Regions from separate parts of the Homo sapiens genome. Here all the other regions are linked to region 3. Evidence: promoter capture Hi-C in 16 types of primary human blood cells and fetal thymus (Javierre and others, 2016). All regions are on one chromosome and are shown on one strand. Each heading gives the region's core, a stretch centred on a gene start or on the middle of the fragment in contact. The rest is flanking DNA. Distances are from core to core; before and after follow the strand shown. Region 1 overlaps TSEN15 (tRNA splicing endonuclease subunit 15). Region 2 overlaps RGL1 (ral guanine nucleotide dissociation stimulator like 1). Region 3 holds the start of DHX9 (DExH-box helicase 9). Region 4 overlaps MR1 (major histocompatibility complex, class I-related). Region 5 overlaps IER5 (immediate early response 5).

Region 1 (4,482 bases), core at 165-2,664, 1.2 Mb after region 3:
TTACATATGAAATAACAGCTGTTATAAGATGTACCATGTAATACAAATTATACTTTATATAGCAGTTGGTGAAAAGCATGATTAACATGCAAGCTGAAATCAAATTTTCATGTAGCTTTTTTTAAAAGCTTTAAAAAAGAGACTTTTTTTAGGACCTTTTTTTAAAAAGCTTAGGTACACAGCATTGGATTAAACATGTCTTTGTTTCATGACATACTCTCATTATTAGTTCATGCTTGGTTTTTATTTATTTACTTAGTTATTTTTAATAATGTAATAAGTATCTCTGTACCCATCACCCAAAGCAAAACTAGATTCTTGATAATAACTAACATCTAATCTTATAAGTCCCTTCCTTAACGTGCTTTCACTGACCTGAGGTAACTCATTCTGAATTCCATGTACATTGGGAATTTTTAAATTTTAGATGTTTTTAACTTTAATTAAAAAATCTTATCTTTTAAGGCTGACCTTATACACTTAATATTATATTACTAAAATTCATCCATTCTTGTGCATTTTTTGAGCTGCCACATAACATTCCATTGTGTGATTATACCACCATTTTTACATCCACTCCCTCGATGATGGAGTGTTGCTAATGTTTAACTTTAGGAGATAATTTCAAACTATTTTCAAAGTGGTTGCCTCAATTTACTTTTCACCTGCAGTGTAAATAAGATCCTTTGGAGCTGTATTGTCTCTCACATTTAGTATTGTCAGACTTTTAAATTTTTGCCAATGGAATGGATTATTCTTATTTTGGTCTTAATTTACATTTCCCTTATTACTCATAATACTGAATATTTCTTTATATATGTATTATTTATAAGAAATATCTGTTCATATCTTTTGCCTGTTGGGTTGTTTTTAGTTTTCTCATTGACTTGTATGAATTCTTTATATATTCTTGACCTAATAGTTTTTTTATTGTGTTTTCCAGTTTTTAAGTCTGTCTTTCACTGTCTTAAGATGTCTTTCAATGAGTAACAGTTCTTAATTTGAATATAATCATATTTATCCATCTTTTATAATCAACGTCTTTGTGTCTAGTTTAAGAAATATTTTCTATCTAACGGTCTAAAAAATACTTATATTTTCACTAAGAGTTCTATTGTTCTTGTTTTTAATGGTGTGAGAGGCGGTTAGGGATACCATTGTCATGTGGATAACCACTTTTTCTACCTCCATTTACTGAATAGTCCCTCCTTTCCTCACTATCTGACATATCACTTCTGCTACTTTCCAAAGTTCCAAACATGCATTAATTTGTTTCTGGGTTCTCTATTATATTCCATTAGCCAGTTTATCTGTCCTTTTGCCAATACCATATCTCTTAATCGCTTGCTTGGTAAGAAGTCTTGGTATCTGGTTAGCAAGCCTCCCTTATGCATTTCTTCTTTAGAAGCTGTAGCAGGCAGCTTCTAAGATGGCTTCTCCTAATTCTGGTATTCACTCCCTTATGTAACTCTCTTCCCTTGAGTGTGACCTGGACTCAGTGACTTCTTTCTAATGAATAAAATTTGGCAAAAATGATAGGAATGTAACTTCTAAGATTAGGTTACAAAAGACTGTGGCTTCTATCTTGGGCACTCTCTCTTGCTTACTATAAAGGAAGCCAGCTGCCACGTGAGCTGTCCTACAGAAAGTCTGAAAATAGAAAAGAGATGACAATTATTGATGGAGCAAGATTCTTGAGAGATGAGGAAGGATGGATTCAAGAGGATAGTGGAGGAGAGTAATATTGAGCATGTAAAGGGGTGCTGTAAACCTCTGAGAGTGGGGTATGGGAAGAATGAACAAATGAAAACACAGCTCTATTTGGGTGGCATATAAGTAGGGAAAAGAGCAGAGCCTCTTAAATTCCAGCATGAATACCGTTGATGAATACTTAACATTTTTTCTAGCTGACTATGACTGAATACATAGCAGTCTAGTAGAAAGAGCCCCAGACTATAAAGTCTTAAGACCTGGGTTCTAGTCTTGGGACTGACACTTAACATTTTGTTTGATGTTTAGCAACACACCTAATTTCTCTGGGTTTCAGTTTCCTCGTCTTATTTTGTTGTTGAGGGATTTAGATTACCAGTACATGCAAGATCCCTTCTAAATTAAAGCTGCTGTAACTGGTTATTTTCATTGTGCATATTTCATAAAGCCATATTAAACTAAATTTGCAGATTTCTATGAAGTATTTTTTGTATTTATTATTCATAATGAGAATTGTTTTTTAATATGTCAGTCTATTCATATGCTTCTTTGAGAAGCTCCTTACTGTTTTCTCTGTGTTTGAGAATTACAAATAGTTGTTAGCATTGACATCAGATTTAATCGCTAGTACTTTCCGGTTTTTACTAGCATGATTTCCAAGCCATCCTATATCCAAGAGTCTTAATTCATTCCTCAGAACTCATTACTTCTGTCTTTTAATTACTGTAACAAATATTGTCCTAGCTAGTATTAATGTTATATTATTTGTTTGGACAAGGAGCTACTATTTGAAATTAACCTGCATTTATTCCTAAAAAATAAAATTAATGAAAGCAATAGCCTATTTTAATCAAAATCATTTCATAAGTCTAGAAGTACAAATTTGTTTCCATTGTTAATTTCTAGTATTTTCCAGGTGGTAATTAATGCTTTTCTAGCTTGAATGGCTAAAGCTTGTTTTCTTCTTCAAGTAGAATTAGTTGGAATGATAACTTGGTAAGCCATTTTGATGCTGTTGCATTTAATAACTGAGAGAGCTTAAATCTTTATGTCTTGTTTTTATATAAATATTCTTAACTATATTATACAGTAGAATACTAATATAGAATGTAGCACAAATGAGGCCTGATACATACTAGATTTATATGCCTTTTAGTGCATAACATTTTCTCAACTCAAACTATGCAAATAACTTTTTAACAAATGGAAATGTGTGGGTGTATATGTGTGTATGTGTGATTTCATTATTCAGTCTTTAACAGGGCAGTCTTTTAGGTAGTAGGCATACTTTTATCTATTTTTACTTTTAGTGTATTTTATAATATAAAATGTTATATATCTAACAGTAATGCTGCAATTCCAGCCTTTCATAGTTAATGTGGGAATTTTTCTGTGTTAGTAACACAGAGAAGAAAATGATTGATGTTGAGTCTCTGATAACCTTGTATAGCAAAGAAATTCATTGGGACATGTCCTAAAAGTATTTGGTGGGAAGATGTGAGGGCAACTCACCATGAAAGAAAAAATACTTTTTATTTAAGAGGGAAAACAGCTTTTACTTATTCAGTGATAAAACATCTACATAAATTAACGATTCTGTTTTCACTTTTAAATATTATTATTTGTCAGATAATATTGCTTGGGCTTTTTGGTCTTAACAATTATTTATTGAGTGACTCTTATGTGTCAGGCAATGATCTAGGTGCTGGGGATACCATGATAACAAATACTTTCATGACATCCTCATGAAAGTAGTATTCTAGCACTGAATATTCGCTTAGAAAATACTTTTTTTTTTTTTTTTGGTAATTGTTGGATGGAATTTTAAAAAACAGAATTGCCCTTTGTTCAGATATTTAATTGAATGTGTGATTTGGGACTGCCTTCACTTATTTTGTAGCTAGATAATTGAATAACAAGTATTATGGAGTACTGATAAGTAGTTTAACAGGGATATGTACAAAATTATGTCAAAACCCAGAGGAAGGACAGGAAAAGTCTCTTTAGCCAGTAAGAGACCATGGTTTAGTAGGGTAACTGCAAGTAATTAAGCATGATTGCCTACCTAGCATGGTGTCTAGTCAGAGTAGGTGTCTAGTAATATTCCTTAAGGCAGCAAATGAATGAATGAATGAATGAATAAAATTTCAGAGAAAAGAGGGAAAGGATGGAAAATTAGATGGGAAAGTTTATTTAGATTATGAAGGCCATCATTGTTTTTACTTTTTTGCTATTACTAATGGTATTCTAATGAATAGCCTTGTGAGTACCTCCTTGTACTCATGTATGAGAGTTTTCCTAAGAATAGCTGGGACATGTATACCTTTATACCTTCTTTTTTTTTGAGATGGATTCTGGCTCTGTCACTCAGGCTGGAGTGCAGTGGCACAATCTCGGCACACTGCAGTCTCCGCCTCCCGGGTTCAAGTGATTCTCCTGCTTCAGCGTTCTAAGTAGCTGGGATTACAGGCATGCACTACCATGCCCAACTAATTTTTTGTGTTTTAGTAGAGACAGGTTTTTGCCTTATTGGCTAGGCTGGTCTCGAACTCCTGACCTCAAGTTATCTGCCCGCCTTGGCCTCCCAAAATTCTGGCATTACAGGTGTGAGCCACTAGGCCTGGCCTATCCCTTCATCTCTACTGGTTATTGCTAAATTGTTTTCAAAAGGATTATTACCAGTTTACACTTGCACTTGCAATGTGTAAGTTTTCACAGACTGGGAGAAGATTTATAACATGTGCATAACTGACAGGTTAATTTAGAATTAGC
Region 2 (3,911 bases), core at 418-2,917, 1.1 Mb after region 3:
TTTTTTTTTTTTTTTTTTTTTGAGATGAAGTCTCACTACTCTGTTGCCCAGGCTGGAATGCAGTGGTACGATCTTGGCTCACTACAACCTCTGTCTTCTGGGTTCAGGGGATTCTCCTGCCTCAGCCTCCCGAGTAGCTGGGATTACAGGCATGTGCCACCATGCCCGCATAATTTTTGTATTTTTAGTAGAGATGGAGTTTCACCATGTTGGCCAGGTTGGTCTCACACCCCTGACCTCAGGTGATCCACCCACTTCGGCCTCCCAAAGTGCTGGGATGAGCCACCGCACCCCACCAATATCAGTGTTAATCTTCTGTACACATCTGCTTCAATCTGTTGGTTGAAGGGTTTGGATCAGAAAGTCAACTATGACATAACTAGAATTTGCACCATTTGGGGAAGGTTTCTGGCTAACCAAGCTTACTCAATAGTGACTTCTGGCTCCTTAGCTTATGGTTAGGTCAGTAAGGTAGAATGTTGGCAATGGTTTCATCCCTTGGTTTATATCTGCTGCTCTTCAAGGGGACATGTGTGTTGCTTCACATGGTGTTAAAACAACAGTGGTAATCCTGGAACCCTCAAGTGACTTTGTCATAATGTAGCCAATCCAGGAAAAGCATCATATTCAGGATTCATCAAACTGAGATGACTAATTTGCTGCTCTAGTTGGATTTCTTAGCTTTCTGCTTTGAAATCCAGGGGATACAATCATTCATGCTCTAAATATTGAAAGAAAGCCTTCGTGGACACCTACGGACTGGCCATGCTCTCAAAAGGCATTTTTCCTCAACCCGGGATGTAGTCATTCTTCGTGACTTGACATACAAATTAGCTTTGTCAAAATCTGGAATGCAGTCTCATCATTCACTTTTTCACAGCCTCTGAGGTTTTATAGGCTCCATTTCTGATGGTAGACATTGTAGGAAAGTAATAACTGAGGTATTGCCCACATTATTGTGGGATTTCTCCCTGTCTCTCCAGGAAGGAGATGGAATCACAGTCACACCTTGTGGCATAGTGGAAATGTACATTGGTCCAAATGGTACCTTTTAAAACTATGCAGAAGCCCAGTGTGCTTTCTCCTGCACATCCCTTGCTTCATCTTTTTTGTCTCATCCCTCATCAGACTGGCTTTTTAAATTCTTGCAGAAGTCATGGCTCTTTATTCTTTGGATGAACCTTTCTCAGAGTCATACATTTCTTAAACATCAGTGATTCACTTGGATGCAAGTAGCTCCTGGACTGCACAATCCCTGCATATTAGCTAGAAAGGCTCGTGATTCTCCTGCTTGGCACATAGCTGGACTGAGCTGACCTCCACACTTCCTTCCTGACCTGAGAGCCTGTGACAGCCGCCTTCTCCAAAAGTCCTCCAGACTGTCATTCTTCCTTTTCCACAGGCTGCACTGTGAGGTTGCTCTTAAGGGTGAAGTGTAATTTATTTGCATTCCTTTCTTCATTCCCCGATCATGATTTCTAAATATTGATTTTTGCACTTGCTCCTCACTTCTTAAATTCTCAATAGGAATTTGGGGGCTCATCAGGCAGTCTGTTTAGAGCTGCTATAACCCAGGCATATTCTAGGCTTTATCTTAACTATAAATGTCACTAGAATCATAGAAAAATCTAACAAAGGAAATAGAGTTTGGATAGAGGAACATGAAGGCGAAAAAATTGAATGAATAATTGGAAAATGCACCCCCTTAACTAATATATCTGCAAAGAAACTTATGCTATTAACTTATCTATCATCAGTTAGTCCTCAAATTGAGCCACTAAGTTGATTCATTTGGGAACATAAGGAAGAAAAAAACCCAAAAACCAAAACAAAAACTAAACCATATTATGATAGAGCCACAATCAGACCCCTACCCATGAGAATTGTCACATCAGCTGGCTGGCTGTAAACTAACTGTGCAATAGAACTGAATGTATAATTATGCCACAGGAGGAAATCTACAGGAAATAAGATAATAGACTCCATTTTAATCAGAAGCCTGATAACCAGAAAGCTCAACTTCTATACTGTTTCCATGGAAAGGCAGATAAATATGAAAGAAATGTTATTTATTTTATAAATGACTTCCAGAATATTTTATAGGATTAACATGGTATAATTTAGCTTAAGTCATTCCGGGAAATTCTTTATAATTTTCTACAATAATAATGGGTATTTTAAATGGTTCAATTTAATGATTTTTAAAAGTACCTCTTCCAATAACTTCTTTCTTTGGTTATTGGTATTGCATGGATGAGAAATGTGTAGTTAATCAGAAAAGCATATTAACTGTAGTACTCCATTTCTTAATTGTCCTTGATACACATCATGAAAATGTATACAGTTGGCTCTACTAGCAAATGTGGAAAGTGGTGAAGCTGCTTAAAGGCTGTATTTCCCTTGAGCAAGTCACTTTTATATTCTGAATCTTATTCTCCTCGTCTTTATAATGCTCTGCATTTTGTTCACAAGACAGTTGTGGAATTAAAATGGGATAAGATAATATGAAAGTTCATGATAAGCCTCACAGTACTAAACATACCGAGGTAGCAGCATACTATGTTGATTCATCTTATTGTCATCAGCCACAGGCTGAGCCTTGGCCATGTGCTTGCTCTGGGAACTCGACAGTGGGAATCAGGGAGCTTGGGTTCCTGTTCTAGGGGTGCTGTCAACTAGCTGTGTGGACCTGGAGCCCCAGTTTTCTCCCTGGGTCTCAGGTTCCTCAGCAGAACAGGTATGGGACTAGTTGATGTCCAAGGCCTTTCTAGCACTAATATTCAATGCAGAGCCGTATAATCTGGGGTACTTCTCTTAGAAACTTCTAAAAATACAGAACTTTCTCTCTCACTACGAAATCTGACTGCAGTAGGACTGAATCAACTGCGTTGGCAAGGCTTTCCTCCAGCCCCGTAAGCTTCTGACTTCTTTGGGAACCCATATTGCCTCCAGTTTCTGGTGTCTGCTGCCACCTGCTGGTTAACTTCTATAAGAACAGCTAAAACCTAGGGAAATAGAACTGCTTTGCCTCACGTGCTTATAGAGTGATTAGGTCACACTGAGTCACCGATAGGCATCTACCACTGATGGGGACTCAGAGTACTTACACCAGGGATGAGACACATGTGTGCTGTGGGCTGTTGTGGAGGAAATAACTGCAGTCTATCAGTCTTGATATCTACCTCTGCTTTGAAAATTGCAAAGCTGTTGGCCAGCGTTCTAATCTGTTTTCTTCTGGGGTGTGTTTACTCTTCCAGCTCTCTGAGTCCTCCTCATCCTGTTCTTCTATCCATTCCATGGACACAAATTCCTCAGGGATGTCTTCCTTAATCAACCCCCTCTCCTCCCCTCCGTCCTGCAACAACAACCCCAAAATCCACAAGCGCTCTGTCTCGGTGACGTCCATTACCTCGACTGTGCTGCCTCCTGTTTACAACCAACAGAATGAAGACACCTGCATAATCCGCATCAGTGTGGAAGACAATAACGGCAACATGTACAAGAGCATCATGGTGAGGAGCAAGCCCTGACCCAGGAGCGGGTTTCCATTTAGATTGTGTGTCTGTGTCTGTCGGCCGCTCAGACTAATAGCCCTAAATATGCACACTCAATATTAGCATATACATATATGCATTCACACAGAAGGGATGTGTGTCAGTTCCAGGTCTCCCTGGGCATAGATGCTGAATGATATATGTATATAAAATATATATACATATATATGCACACACATGGTGTATATAGGATATAATTTTCACATCTTAAAGAAATGCTAAAACTTATTCGTTTAGGTCAGTATTAGCCATTTGAAAATTCTCAATTTGGGTGACAGTGTAAATGTGCTCCAGGGAGGATGACACAACCTCACACATTTTTGGAAGCCTTCCTATGGAATTATATGTCTGGTTTTA
Region 3 (3,955 bases), core at 824-3,323:
GAGCTCGCTGCAACTTCTGCCCCTCCTCCCTCCAGGTTCAAGCAATTCTCCTGCCTCAGCCTCCCAAGTAGCTAGGATTACAGGCACACGCCACCTTGCCCGGCTAATTTTTGTATTTTTAGTACAGACAGGGTTTTGCCATGTTGGCCAGGCTGGTCTCAAATTCCTGACCTCAGGTGATCCACCTGCCTTGGCCTCCCAAAGTGCTGGGATTACAGGCATGAACCACCACACCTGGTCTTGTTGAGGATTCTTGCATCTATGTTCATCAGGGATACTGGCCTATAGATTTTTTTTCTTGTGTCCATATCTAGTTTTGGTATCAGGGTAATGCTGCCCTCACAGGATGAGTTTGAGAACTGGTATGAGTTCTTCTTTAACTGTTCAGTAGAATTCAGCAGTGAAGCCATCAGGGCCTGGACTTTTCTTTGATGGGAGACTCTATATTACTGATTTAATCTCATTACTCATAGTTGGTCTTTTCAGGTTTTCTATTTCTTCTTGGTCCAATTTTGGTAAGTTGTATCTGTTCAGGAATTTATCCATTTCCATTTGGTTTCCAATTTGTTGGCATATAGTTGTTCATAATAGTCTCTAATGATCCTTTGTATTTCTGTGGTATCGGTTTAATGTCTTCTAGGCCCCTGCTGCTTTCAACACCCTGAAGGGTACAAAAAAAAAAAAATTAAGGTCTTTCCTTCAATGATTTTATTCTTAATTAAGGAGAACAATCACATGAAGAAAATAATAAGTAAATGATAAACTATGTTGTTCTGATTTTAAGAATGACAGTTTTAAAGGGAGTGATCACTATCAGCTAGAAGGATTAAGAAAAACATAAGGAAAGAGGTGAAAAATAAAGATCCATAGATATAATGAGCCCAGATAATTGATTAGTCTGGATTCCCTGGAACAATCCCAGCTGGAAATGTTTTGTATCATTACCTTCATGGGACGCACTGGAGTTTCAAAATTTAACAGTGACTAGTATAATAATTAAGGACACAATTATTCCAAAGACTTGGAACACAAAATTACTCCAAAGACTTGGAACACAAAAGGTTATCCAATTTAAACAAAAGCAACCTTGCAGATTTTATTCCTACCTTAAAGTAGTTTGCTGAGCACTTACAGTAATGTTCCAGGCACGGCAAGGAGCGACCTGCGTTAGCCAGGCAGAATGCCCGCCTTCACTGAGCTTATTTCTTTCATGGTTTTTTTTTTTTTTTTTGAGACGGAGTCTCGCTCTCTCGCCCAGAAAATGGCGTGATCTCGGCCCACTGCAACCTCCGCCTCCGCCCCCGACCCCGGGGTTCAAGCGATTCTCCTGCCTCAGCCTCCCGAGTAGCTGGGATTGCAGGAGCCCGCCCAGCCACCCAAGCAGCTGGGATTGCAGGCGCCCGCCCCCATGCCCGGCTAATTTTTGTATTTTTTTTTTTTTTTTTAGTAGAAACGGGGTTTCACCACGCTGGCCAGGCTGGTCTCAAACTCCTGACCCCAAGTGATTCGCCCACCTCGGCCTCCCAAAGTGCTGGGATTACAGTCACCACGCCCGGCCAGTTTATTTCTTTCAAGAGACACTGGCGTTCAGACTATCTGAATCAATCCGGTAACTACGCCCACTGAACACCTACTACATGCCAGGTATTGAACTAAGCCGCCCTTCATATGCCATCTCATGTAATTATCTCAACAACCCTACCAAGTTAGCAGCAAGGTTTCCAGTTCTGCCTTCGAAGGGAACCTCCTCTCACCGGAGATCCCTATGACAGACCCTGCGAAATATTTTGCTGCATCAGAATGCTACAGGCCGTCAACTCCCTAACATGCGCAAAAGCGGGCAGCCGATTATCCAGGGTAGTGGATTATCCAGGAGAGTGGATTATCCAGAGTAGCAGGTCTGGCGCGATGCCCGCCCGGCTCAGCCCATCTCCCTAGCAACGAAACCCTTCCGCGCCGCGAGGTTGCTGAGCCCCGCCCCCTCCATTGGCGCGCCCTCGCCATCCCCCGCCCTGGCACGCGCTCTGCGCATGCGTACGCTCGCTGGCCCCGCCCCCTAGCGCCGCGGTCGGAGCCATTTCGCCGATTCCTCCATGCGAGTTGCTGTGCGTTTCTCTGTTGTCTCGGTAGAAGGCCAGAGTCACACACGGTCCTAAGAGCTGGGCACCAGGAAGCGAAGGCTGGTAAGGGAGAGACGTTCCGGCTACCATGCGGGGCGGCGGGGTCGCGGGCGGGCGCCGTGGACCATGGCTCCGCAGCCGGCTTTGTTGCGAAGCGCGGGCGGCGGCGGCGGCTGGGGGTGGGGGAAGGGACGAGCCGCCCGCGGGTCCCCGGATTGCGGGTTGCGTGCGCGCCTCGCCGCGATGCGCTTGCGCCGTCCGGGCAGCCTGTGGCCCCCTCCCCTCTCCTCCGCCCAGCGTTTCCCGCTGCTGCCTCTAGCAGGCAAAGCGCGCTTCCTCCTCTGGCCTGCGTACGCCGGGGCACCGCGGCGGCTGAGGGAAGGGGGTGCTTCGCCTGTGGTGGTTGCCGCCGGGGCGCCACTGGCCTAGGGCTCTTCATTCATTCAAGCCACGAATAACTGGCGCCGTCGTGCAGGCCTTGTGGGTAGAGGAAAAAAAATTGAAGAATGTAAAGGGAGAGCGCCTTTGGCTAGTATAGCGAGGTAAGGCGTCTCGAAGGAGGGAGGCTTTGAGCTGATAACCTCGGCCAACGCGAAGGAAAAGCAGAGCCTGCAGAAGCGGAAGGGATTAGTTATCGCTTAAGGGCAGAAACTGGGCGGGAGCTGAAAGCAGGCCATGTGACTGGAGTGTGGCGAGAAGGCCTTCAAAGGAGAATGGGTTTTAGGGTGGCAAGAGTGGAAACAAAAACCGTGTAGGACAATATTTCACTAGCCCGGGTGTGCAGTAGTGGTGGCAGGAGAGATGGGGAGAAACGAATGGATAGGGGACGTATTTTGAAGCAGAAATGCGTAGTGGTGGAAGGTAGTAGATCTGGAGTCAGGCTACGTTTTCTGGAATTCTTGCGCCTTTTTTTTTTTTTTTTTTTTTGCAAGAGTCTCGCTCTGTCGCCAGACTGGAGTGCAGTGGCGCGATGGCGGCTCACAGCAACGTCGGTCTCCCGGGTTCAAGTGATTCTCCTGCCTCAGCCTCCGGAGTAGCTGGGACTACAGGCGCGCGCCACCACGCCCAGCTAATTTTTGTATTTTTAGTAGAGACGGGGTTTCATCATGTTGGCCAGGATGGTCTCGATCTCTCGACCTCGTGATCCGCCTGCCTTGGCCTACCAAAGTGCTGGGATTACAGGCGTGAGCCTCCGCGCCCGCCCGAATTCTTGCTCTTATAATTAGGAGCTCTGTCTTCCTGAAGCAAGATATTCTTTGTCTCAGTTTCCCCTTCTCTAAAGGGATAGTGATCTTACCTGTACAAGGTTACTAAGGATTAAGTAAAATAGTTCCATTTAGATGATCTATTATGGATATTGTTTGACACACATTAAGGGTTCTACAAGGGATAGCTATGGAGAATCTTAAGGGAGTGGACGACTCTCAACTTGTGCCAGGAGTAACTTGGTGGATGTCGTACCGTTTATGGAAACCGAAATGTAGGGGTAGGGTGTTGGAACAGATTTGAGGGGAAATTTAAAATTCTGTTTTGACTGAGATGCCAAGTTAGCATGCAAATGGGTGAGTTAGTGCCACAGTTGGATGAACTTAATTTTGGACTTTAAAGAGAAACGACGGGCGGGCGCGGTGGCTGACGCCTGTAATCCAGCACTTCGGGAGGTTGAGGCGGGCCGATCAAGAGGTCAGGAGATCAAGACCATCCTGGCCAACACGGTGAAACCCCGTGTCTACTAAAAATACAAAAAATTAGCTGGGCGTGGTGGCGGGCGCCTGTTGTCCCAGCTACTCGGGAGGCTGAGGCAGGAGAATCGCTTGAACCTGGGAGGCGGAGGT
Region 4 (4,142 bases), core at 1,148-3,647, 1.8 Mb before region 3:
GGTACTGGTGGGCAGTGTCCAGAACTTAGACTTGGCCACCACCATAGGTGTGACTGATGAACATGAGAGGAAGGAGTTCTTTCAAATCACCCATGCACATAGAGAGTGGAATGACTGACCATGGAGATTTGGAAGGGCGAGGGGGGTGGATGATTAGAAATTACTTAATGGGTACAATGTGTGTTACTTGGGTGATGGATACCTTAAAGCCCCAACTTGACCACTACACAATCTATGCTATAACAAAATTGCATGTGTACATCATAAATTTATACAAATAAAAAAATTTTAAATCATATGGCTGGGAGTGGTGGCTCACACCTGTAATCCTAGCACGTTGAGAGGCCGAGGCAGACGGATCGCTTGAGGTCAGGAGTTTGAAACCAGCTTGGCCATCATAGTGAAACCCCATCTCACTAAAAATACAAAAAATTAGCTCGGCACACCCATCTCTACTAAAAATACAAAAAATTAGCTGTGCACAGTGCGCACCTGTGATCCCAGCTACTCGGGAGACTGAGGCAGGAGAATCACTTGAACCCAGGAGGCGGAGGTTGCAGTGAGCCGAGATCATGCCACTGCACTCTAGCCTGGGTGACAGAGTGAGACTCCATCTCAAAAAAAAAAAATCCATATATTAATTGTTCAAATATTGATTGATGGCCTACTATGTGCCAGGCACTTTGGGGGATATGGCAGCGAACAAGACAAACATAGTCTCTGCTTCCATGAAAATTTAATCCAGAAAGTGTCATCATTTATGGGAAAGATTGGGGGTGAGGGTAAGAGGCAGAAGATGAAAGAGGAAAGGAGGAGAGAGGCAAAGGGTGATATTTTTGGAAATAATAAAGCTTATATATTACCTGCATGTGATTCTCAAAGAACTCTCCAATAATATGGAATAATATTCCTTAAACATATTATCTCCTATGACAATCTCACTGACTATTTGTAGTAGGTGAAGAAAATATCCCCATTTAAAGATGAGGCCTAGATTTTTCTCTAGGCCTAGAGAGTGACCACGCTCACATAAGGAGCAACCTGAAGGAGACTGCAGATCTTCTGGCCCTCGGTCCAGGGCTGTTCCACAATGTCATTGCTCCTTTGGGTGTGAAGACTTGTCACTTTGATAATTGGGGGGACAGGAAATAAAACAAGTAAGTTATAAAGGCAAGGGAAGGTCACTTGGTGCTGGCTGTTCTCCTTCTGACTCCTTAGAGTGCATCCTTCTCTGTTCTGTTCTGTGTCCTTGAGGCTGACTGCTAGACTGCATCACCTAGACTCTCTTGCAAGCTGATTTCTGCTTGGGTTCATACAATGGGAGACACTGAAAGGAGAGATGTCAGAGAGCAGGGAGGAAAGAGAGGCTGGGATACATCTTTCTTGCTCCTTCCCCACTTTCTGTGATGTCTTTGGCAGTAGCTATGTTCTTCTGTAATGCTGTCTTCCCTGAATAACCCCTTCTTCATGGTTCTAGCTCCCATTGGGCTTCAGTAACGGTATTTGCTATTCTTATCTCTTAAGCCCTAGGGGTGATAATGGCTTCCCATAGTTGTTAGCCTGCAGATGCCCATCATCCTTGTTTGTTCCGTTAACCTTGACCATATCTCTGCAAGGAGTCCCTTCATTAAGGTCTCCTCACATGACCCATCTGGCTTGAAGGCTGTTTCCTGCTAGGACCCTAACTGAACATTCCTGGGCTTTGAGGGATATTGGCTGGAAAAGGATATGAGATTATGAAAGAAGACTCAGTCTACTTGATATTTATGCCTAGTGCTAGCCCTGAGTGGGAGCTATATACCAGTAATAGATGGGGAAACACGGGGAAGAGATACTGCAGGGTTGTGGGTCATTACTCCAGGAAATGTCAACATAACTCCAATATCACTTTCAGTGTGTTGCTTTCATCAACTCCACAGCCTGCAGTTGACTCCTCCTTCCTTTGTGCTCCCATGGCTCCTGTTCACAGTTCTGTAATTTTCCATTTACAAAAATCTTCTCTTTGAGGCTCTCCTTAAAGACAGAAAGAGATATCTTCATTTTTTTCTTATTTCTCTGGTATACCTAGTGCCCAACAGGCACTTAGTAAATGTTTGCTGAGTGAATTTATGTTCGGAGGTAATGTCCCTAAGAAATCACAGTTATTTGACTGGGAGCCATAGAGAGCTCGGGCAGTAATAACGACTGCAAATTCAAAACTGTGGCTTACTGTAGTTGCAGGATTTGTATTAAAAAGGTGTTTCATGCTTTTACAACTCATCTTGTTCTTCATTTCAGCCTGTGTGAAACTGTGAATTGGCGATATGGGTGGGTGTAATCAGACTGGGGGCTGGCATGAGATTTCTCATGCATTGCCATATGTGATTTGTATGTTTCATCTCGACATAACCAAGGTCAGTCTCTTGATATTACTCATAATTTTATGGCTGTATAAATCTGCTATATCAATCTACTTCATGAATGGTGGAGTCCTTCACAGGCGAGGTCTGATGATGGATAAGCTCCCTAAGCTGCCAACTGGGTTACTGTTAAAAAACAGACTTGCATATTATCTGCTTAGAAGTGACCTTGAGTTCAAAGAGTTAACATGAGAAAATATGGGCTTTTTCTTTAGACTTTATTAGATAGACTTCAGTCTGTTTCCATGGAGCTGTTGCCAAGGTATATGCCATAGAAATTTCTCCAAGACAATGTTTCACTCCCCTAAGGCCCTCTTCTTAATTGGCATTGAATCTATCTAAACTTGAGAAATTCAACTAATTTGTAGATTTTTCTTTTGACTAGTTGAAATATCTGTCTATTCTCACTTGACCCCAATCCTCTTACCCCACAGTATTGCTAAGAGCTGGAGGAAAGGAGCCTAAGTTAAAGATCAAACACATGACTCTTTGAACACTTATTTTAGGGAACTCAAATTGAGAAAGATGACAAAGGATGTTTTTTCTGATGTATGAATTTATATTTATCGGGGAAAATCTTTCAAGAGTATACATATTAAGTCACATTTTGTTATAACTTCAAAGGATCATTTTAGAAAAATAAAATTTATAAAATCGGGATTTTCTGGGAAACATAAGACATATAGTCATCATTGTGTACAGAGAGTACTGAGGGAAAAAAGACACCAGAGCTCATTCATTCGTTTTCCAAAACTCCACATAGTCCTACAGGGCTCACTTTCTTACTCCATTCACATCTCTGCTCAAATGCCACCTGCTGTGGTCCCTCTATCTAAAAGATCAGGCCTTCTCCTCTCCACACTCTCTTTTCTCTGCTTTACTTTTCTTCATAATCTTTATCTCCACCTGACCTTGTATTATATATGTATTTATTGCCAATCTCCTGTCTAGAAATTATCTCACAGGGCTGGGACTTTCATGTGTTCATTGCTCTGTTTCCAGCAGCTAGGACTGTGCTTATTGGACATTCAGAAAAGAATATACCTATATGAAGTGAGACATTGGCAACCTTCAAAAGGGTAGCCTCAGAAGAGTAGCTCACAAGCCAAACTTGTCACAGTCGCCACTTTTATGCTCTAAGTTCCTGTAGTTAGTTAGACATGTCATTAGGAGAGGGGACTAATGGTTCTTGCTGCACATAGAACCATCCATGAACATGGCCTGAGATGTGTCCAAAGGTCCCCTTAACTAAAAATATTGCCACCTACTTCTCCCCTCATTCCCACGATGCTCGAAATTCTAAAGAGTCATTCCCAGGAATCATAATCATTTTGACCTTATTAAGGCATTGGACTTCTTGAGAGAGCCAATAAATAATCAGACTGTGTTGACCTGGTTATCCAATCAGGACTCACGGCCACCTGTGTGTAGGAAGGTCTGGAGCCTGTGGCCCCAGGGACTGGGAAATCAGAGGCAGTGAGTCATCCTTGACACAAGGGGGCAGGAGAGAGCAGTGATAATCCAGGGGCTAGAAGCCTGGCCTGGAAAGCTTCCCCTACACTAGGGAGGGTTGGGTAGTCTCAAGGTAGAGGGACTTCCCATGGAGAGATCACAGTGTGATTCCTGGTTCCTTCACTTATGGATTCTGAGGATGATCTTGGGCAATTAATCTCTCTGCACCTATTTTCTTTTCTTTTTTTTTGAGATGGAGTTTTGCTCTTATTGCCCAGGCTGGAGTGCAAT
Region 5 (4,499 bases), core at 1,311-3,810, 1.7 Mb before region 3:
CAGGGGAAGCAGATGGAGTTCAAGCTGGAGGCTCATCGCATCGTCAGCATCTCTCTGGGCAAGATCTACAACTCGCGGGTCCAGCGCGGCGGCATCAAGCTGCATAAGAACCTCCTGGTCTCGCTGGTGCTGCGCAGCGCCCGCCAAGTCTACCTGAGCGACCCGTGCCCCGGCCTCTACCTGGCCGGTCCCGCTGGGACCCCGGCGCCGCCACCGCAGCAGCAGCCCGGGGAGCCGGCGGCCGGGCCACCCGCCGGCTGGGGAGAGCCGCCCCCGCCCGCCGCTCGTGCCTCTTGGCCGGAGACCGAGCCGCAGCCGGAGCGCTCCTCCGTCTCAGACGCGCCGCGGGTAGGGGACGAGGTGCCGGTGGCCACGGTGACTGGAGTCGGGGACGTTTTTCAGGGCGGAGAGGCGGACGCGACGGAAGCTGCCTGGAGCCGCGTGGAGGGGCCGCGCCAGGCGGCGGCCAGAGAAGCCGAGGGTACCGCCGGAGGCTGGGGCGTCTTCCCCGAGGTATCTCGTGCCGCGCGCCGCCCCTGCGGCTGCCCCCTAGGCGGGGAGGACCCGCCGGGTACACCGGCCGCGACCCCCCGCGCTGCCTGCTGCTGCGCGCCGCAACCAGCGGAGGACGAGCCCCCCGCGCCGCCCGCGGTGTGCCCCAGGAAGCGCTGCGCGGCGGGGGTGGGCGGCGGCCCAGCGGGCTGCCCGGCGCCCGGCTCGACCCCGCTCAAGAAGCCCCGCCGGAACTTAGAGCAGCCGCCGAGTGGAGGAGAGGACGACGACGCGGAGGAGATGGAGACCGGGAACGTGGCTAACCTCATCAGCATCTTCGGTTCCAGTTTCTCGGGACTCCTACGGAAAAGCCCCGGGGGCGGCAGAGAGGAAGAGGAGGGAGAGGAGAGCGGTCCGGAAGCCGCCGAGCCCGGGCAGATCTGCTGCGATAAGCCGGTGCTGAGAGACATGAACCCCTGGAGCACAGCCATCGTGGCCTTCTGAGCCCTTGGCCCCCCTGCGGGGAGGAGGTGGAGCAGCGGGCGTCCCCGAAGTGAGGGCCAGGCCCTTCCCGGCTGCGAGGACGCCCAGAGACCGCGGGCGCTGAGCGCGTTGGGCAGACTGGTTGCCTCTGGGCATCGCAAACTGCCCCCGGGCGCATCTGGCTTATCTGGAGACCTGGGAGCTTGAGGCTCATTGGAAGAGGACGATCGTTAACTTTTGTGTTTGTGTATGTCTGTGTATGTAAGTTTGTCTTGTGGCATTAAGACTATTTTGCTCTTCTGGAATGCACCACTCCTTCCCCAGGGTTTAAGAGATTGGGGGCAGACAGGGACTTTCCTCTGCCGGCTGCGTGGAGAAGGAAGCGGCTAAAAGGTTTGGGCCGGGGAGTTCCCCATTCGTTCTCCGGGGAGGGAGGGACTTTACACCTACCCCTCACCGGAAAGCTAGACCCGCTTCAGGGCCAGGAGTGGCGTTTCCGCACAGGATTTCCTAAGACGAGAGGGATTTAGCCAAGAGCACAGACTTGGATTCCTTCTGTCCCTCCCCACCTTTCTCTCCCAATGAAGAAACGTTTATATCCTGTGATTACTCTAGGAAAGGGGCGTATTAACGGTCCTTTGCTTCCCCGCAGGGGAGAAAAAGCTTGACGAACTTCACAGAAGAGTTCAAGCTTGGAAATAATGGAGTTTATAGAGAAAAGATATATTTTTAAAAGCTCTAGGTCAGAAGTACTACACAGTGCTTTTAAAAAGTGTTTAATGAGAGTTTACAGACAGAAGCCCGAAGTGGAAAGACCTTATGGTTTTGTAGATATGGTGACTCCAGTCTTTGTTGTATAAAGGTTGGGGGAGCTGATAAGGTTTTTGTACAGTATTTTCTCCTTCGTTGTATTGATTTTTGTATAAAAATGTAACTTCTACGTGTCTAACACGTATTAAATATTTTGAAGCAACGTAACTGCCTGCTTGTCTGTAATAACCTGCCTGGGTTGGGAGGGAAGTGGGAGGAGGGAAACCAGGGCCTGAGCTAGAAAATTGAAGGTGTGGTTCTTAGTATCAGTCATTCGCAGACTGAGGACATTGTTTACTGACTCCACTAAGTATCAAGAGAGACACGTTTAATTTTTCCTCCTAGATCAGAGGACTGCTATTAGATACTAATATCGGCGACCTGTCAGGTTCTAGAAACCTGCCACTACAACTGCCTTTTCTAAGGTCAGTTTAGACCAATTTGTCACCCAATATGTGGGTGTCTAATACTAAGTAATTTAACCAACTTTTGAAGCCCCGCTTATCCACAAAAATGTTTTTCAGCAAAACTTTGTTTCCTGTTAAGCTATTAATACGGGTCATCTTTTAGCTTTGTAATTGAAAAAAAAAAAGTTTAGATAGTAGTTTACCTTAAAAGCCCATTCGAACTGACATAGGAAGATGAAAGAGACTGACTTGTCCAAATTGTCAGGTCCACCTCTGCATCACAGTGGATGTCAGGATGTAAATTTTCAGTTTTTCTCTTACATCTAGAAAGTAAATATATTGCTGAGAGGGAAATTGTTTGCATCAAACCAGATAAGGAAGGAGGGCTAGGCAAATTTAGTTCTCATTTAGCAAAACTTCCTGATTTGTTTTGTTACTTAAATGGTGACATCAGTGTTTGGTCATGGTAGACACTTAGGTGATGATAGCCAAAACATCCATCGATTTTACTAAAATCACTGCCATTAAGAGAGTTTTTTGTCTCTTCATGTTCAATGTTTGAAAGGTATTCAGTAATCTATTTCAGAAGCAAATCAATTAGGGAATGGTGTTTATTAAAATACGGTACAGTTGCCAGGACTTTAAAAGATGGTACTGGTTTCTAACAACTTACGAGTATATAGGGTATTTAAAAGATGGGAGAGATTGAAGAAAGACAAAGGTTTAAAGGTCATAGCCTTCGAGCATAAGAGGCATATGAATGGTGTCTTGGCCTTAACTCCCAATTATACGAACTTCTGTTTTAGCTGAATAGGCCAGTGCCTCGTGCCTTGATATTTCGGCAAATCTATTAGTGGTTCCTTAAGCATAGGGAACTTTGTACTTTATGCTCTGTCGCCATAATAATGTATTTATAGAATTAAACATTCTCAAATTAGGGTCTTGTTAAACTGACTTTTTCTTTCAGAAAGTAGCTACTTAAATTCTGTTACAGCTACAAAAGATCCATCAAGTGCTGACTGCTTAAACTGAAGAAGGTGTCCAGGGCCTTAATTCTGCAAACATTTCCTGTTGTTAGAAAGTATGATGCTTGAACAGCGATCTCAGTGTATTTTATGTTTTAAAGGGGGTAACGTTTGGTGTGTTTAAGAGAGCTGATGTGTTTTGGATGAGACTAAAGTTGATCCTTGGTTTTACATTAAGATGAACCTGGGTCCATGTGTCTGCTTAAAGAATGTAAATTGGCATACTTGATAGGAGGATAAAGCTTTGTAGGAATTAGAAAAGATCATTCTCTTTTTTGTTGCAGAAGCAGTATAGTATAGTAGTTAGAGCATGGGCCCTGGAGCCAGGCTGCTTGGTGTCTTCCTTTATTTATTTATTTATTTAATTATAAAAAGTAAATATAAAGTGAGCTATGTTGACCAGGTTCGTCTTGAACTCCTGGCCTCAAGCAATCCTCCTGCCTCAGCCTCCCAAAGTGCTGGGATTACAGGCATGAGCCACCACAACCTGGCCTGCTTGGGTTTTTCTATCTTGGCTCTGCCACCTAGCTGTGGGTCCTTGGACAAGTTACTTCATCTCTCTGTGCCTCAGGTTTTTCAAATGTAAAATTGGGATAATTGGATCTGTCTCATAGGGTTGTGAAAATTAATGAGTTAATGCTCTTAGAAGAGTACCTCATATGTAATAAGCACGCAACTGTTAATTATTGTTAATGTAGAAGTTAATTCTGTGTATAAATCAGATACACTGTGGTCAAAGATTTGTGTGTATTTGTAAGAAAAGAGGAGAATGGAGAATCTATTTTTAAGTGGTCCTATGTGTGAATGCTGGGTTCTTTTATTCCTCTTTTTCTCTGGACACTTGGCAGTCAGGAAGCTTTGTTCTACCAACATAGTTTTGTTGCTGTGAATGTCTCACACCAACCGGATGATTTTTCCAATTGTATCAAACAACTCTATTTTCAGGGAGGAGTAAGCTGAAGTGAAAACAGGCAAGGAGCAAAGTTCTTGTTGACATACAAATGCTTTCTGTGGATGAGTAAAGAAAAAAGTAGCCCATAAAGTTATTTTTGCTTGAATTATTGCGCATGGAATGTTTAAAACATGCTTATTGATAGGTTCTGGACAAGAGCCTTCCCAATGCCAACCTAGGGCTATCACACAACCAAATCAGATGCAGTGTGACTAGAAACGATGCCATGGTTTTAGTACCTAACCACTTCTTCACCACTCTGGGAGGGACCTAGTCTCTTGATCAAATTAACCTTAGCTCTGGGGTGTAAAAAAACCTTCTGACTGCTGC

What was found. Contacts are between HindIII fragments. The CHiCAGO score rates a contact against its expected background, and 5 or more counts as called.
Region 1: a contact is called between a fragment that was not itself captured here and the fragment with the promoter of DHX9 in region 3, in 1 of 17 cell types (total B cells). The highest score is 5.4, in total B cells.
Region 2: a contact is called between a fragment that was not itself captured here and the fragment with the promoter of DHX9 in region 3, in 1 of 17 cell types (total B cells). The highest score is 5.2, in total B cells.
Region 4: a fragment that was not itself captured here is called in contact with the fragment with the promoter of DHX9 in region 3 in 1 of 17 cell types (naive CD4 T cells); the score reaches 5.5 in naive CD4 T cells.
Region 5: a fragment that was not itself captured here is called in contact with the fragment with the promoter of DHX9 in region 3 in 3 of 17 cell types (activated CD4 T cells, non-activated CD4 T cells and total CD8 T cells); the score reaches 6.6 in activated CD4 T cells.

Annotation. Positions count from the first base shown.
Region 1 is chr1:184,055,535-184,060,016 of GRCh38, forward strand. All of the region lies in intron 3 of TSEN15 (tRNA splicing endonuclease subunit 15), which reads left to right. Among named protein-coding and RNA genes, the nearest start is that of TSEN15, 6.0 kb to the left of the region's middle. The HindIII fragment of the contact is 2,494 bases long and covers 168-2,661 here.
Region 2 is chr1:183,913,190-183,917,100 of GRCh38, forward strand. RGL1 (ral guanine nucleotide dissociation stimulator like 1) reads left to right here. Exons shown (of 18, transcript NM_001297671.3): 16 at 3,258-3,512. Among named protein-coding and RNA genes, the nearest start is that of RGL1, 110 kb to the left of the region's middle. RefSeq lists an enhancer at 2,856-3,045. The HindIII fragment of the contact is 2,496 bases long and covers 420-2,915 here.
Region 3 is chr1:182,837,274-182,841,228 of GRCh38, forward strand. DHX9 (DExH-box helicase 9) reads left to right here and starts at 2,074. Exons shown (of 28, transcript NM_001357.5): 1 at 2,074-2,183. It overlaps DHX9-AS1 (DHX9 antisense RNA 1), which reads right to left and starts at 2,318. Exons shown (of 2, transcript NR_148933.1): 1 at 2,039-2,318; 2 at 1-661. RefSeq lists an enhancer at 1,699-2,540 and a silencer at 1,964-2,393. The HindIII fragment of the contact is 6,331 bases long and covers 1-3,955 here.
Region 4 is chr1:181,034,720-181,038,861 of GRCh38, forward strand. All of the region lies in intron 1 of MR1 (major histocompatibility complex, class I-related), which reads left to right. Among named protein-coding and RNA genes, the nearest start is that of MR1, 2.8 kb to the left of the region's middle. The HindIII fragment of the contact is 3,097 bases long and covers 850-3,946 here.
Region 5 is chr1:181,088,891-181,093,389 of GRCh38, forward strand. It overlaps IER5 (immediate early response 5), which reads left to right. Exons shown (of 1, transcript NM_016545.5): 1 at 1-4,010. The coding sequence starts at 13. The coding sequence ends at 996. Among named protein-coding and RNA genes, the nearest start is that of IER5, 2.4 kb to the left of the region's middle. RefSeq lists silencers at 169-328, 529-748, 1,323-1,617 and an enhancer at 1,139-1,308. The HindIII fragment of the contact is 1,793 bases long and covers 1,665-3,457 here.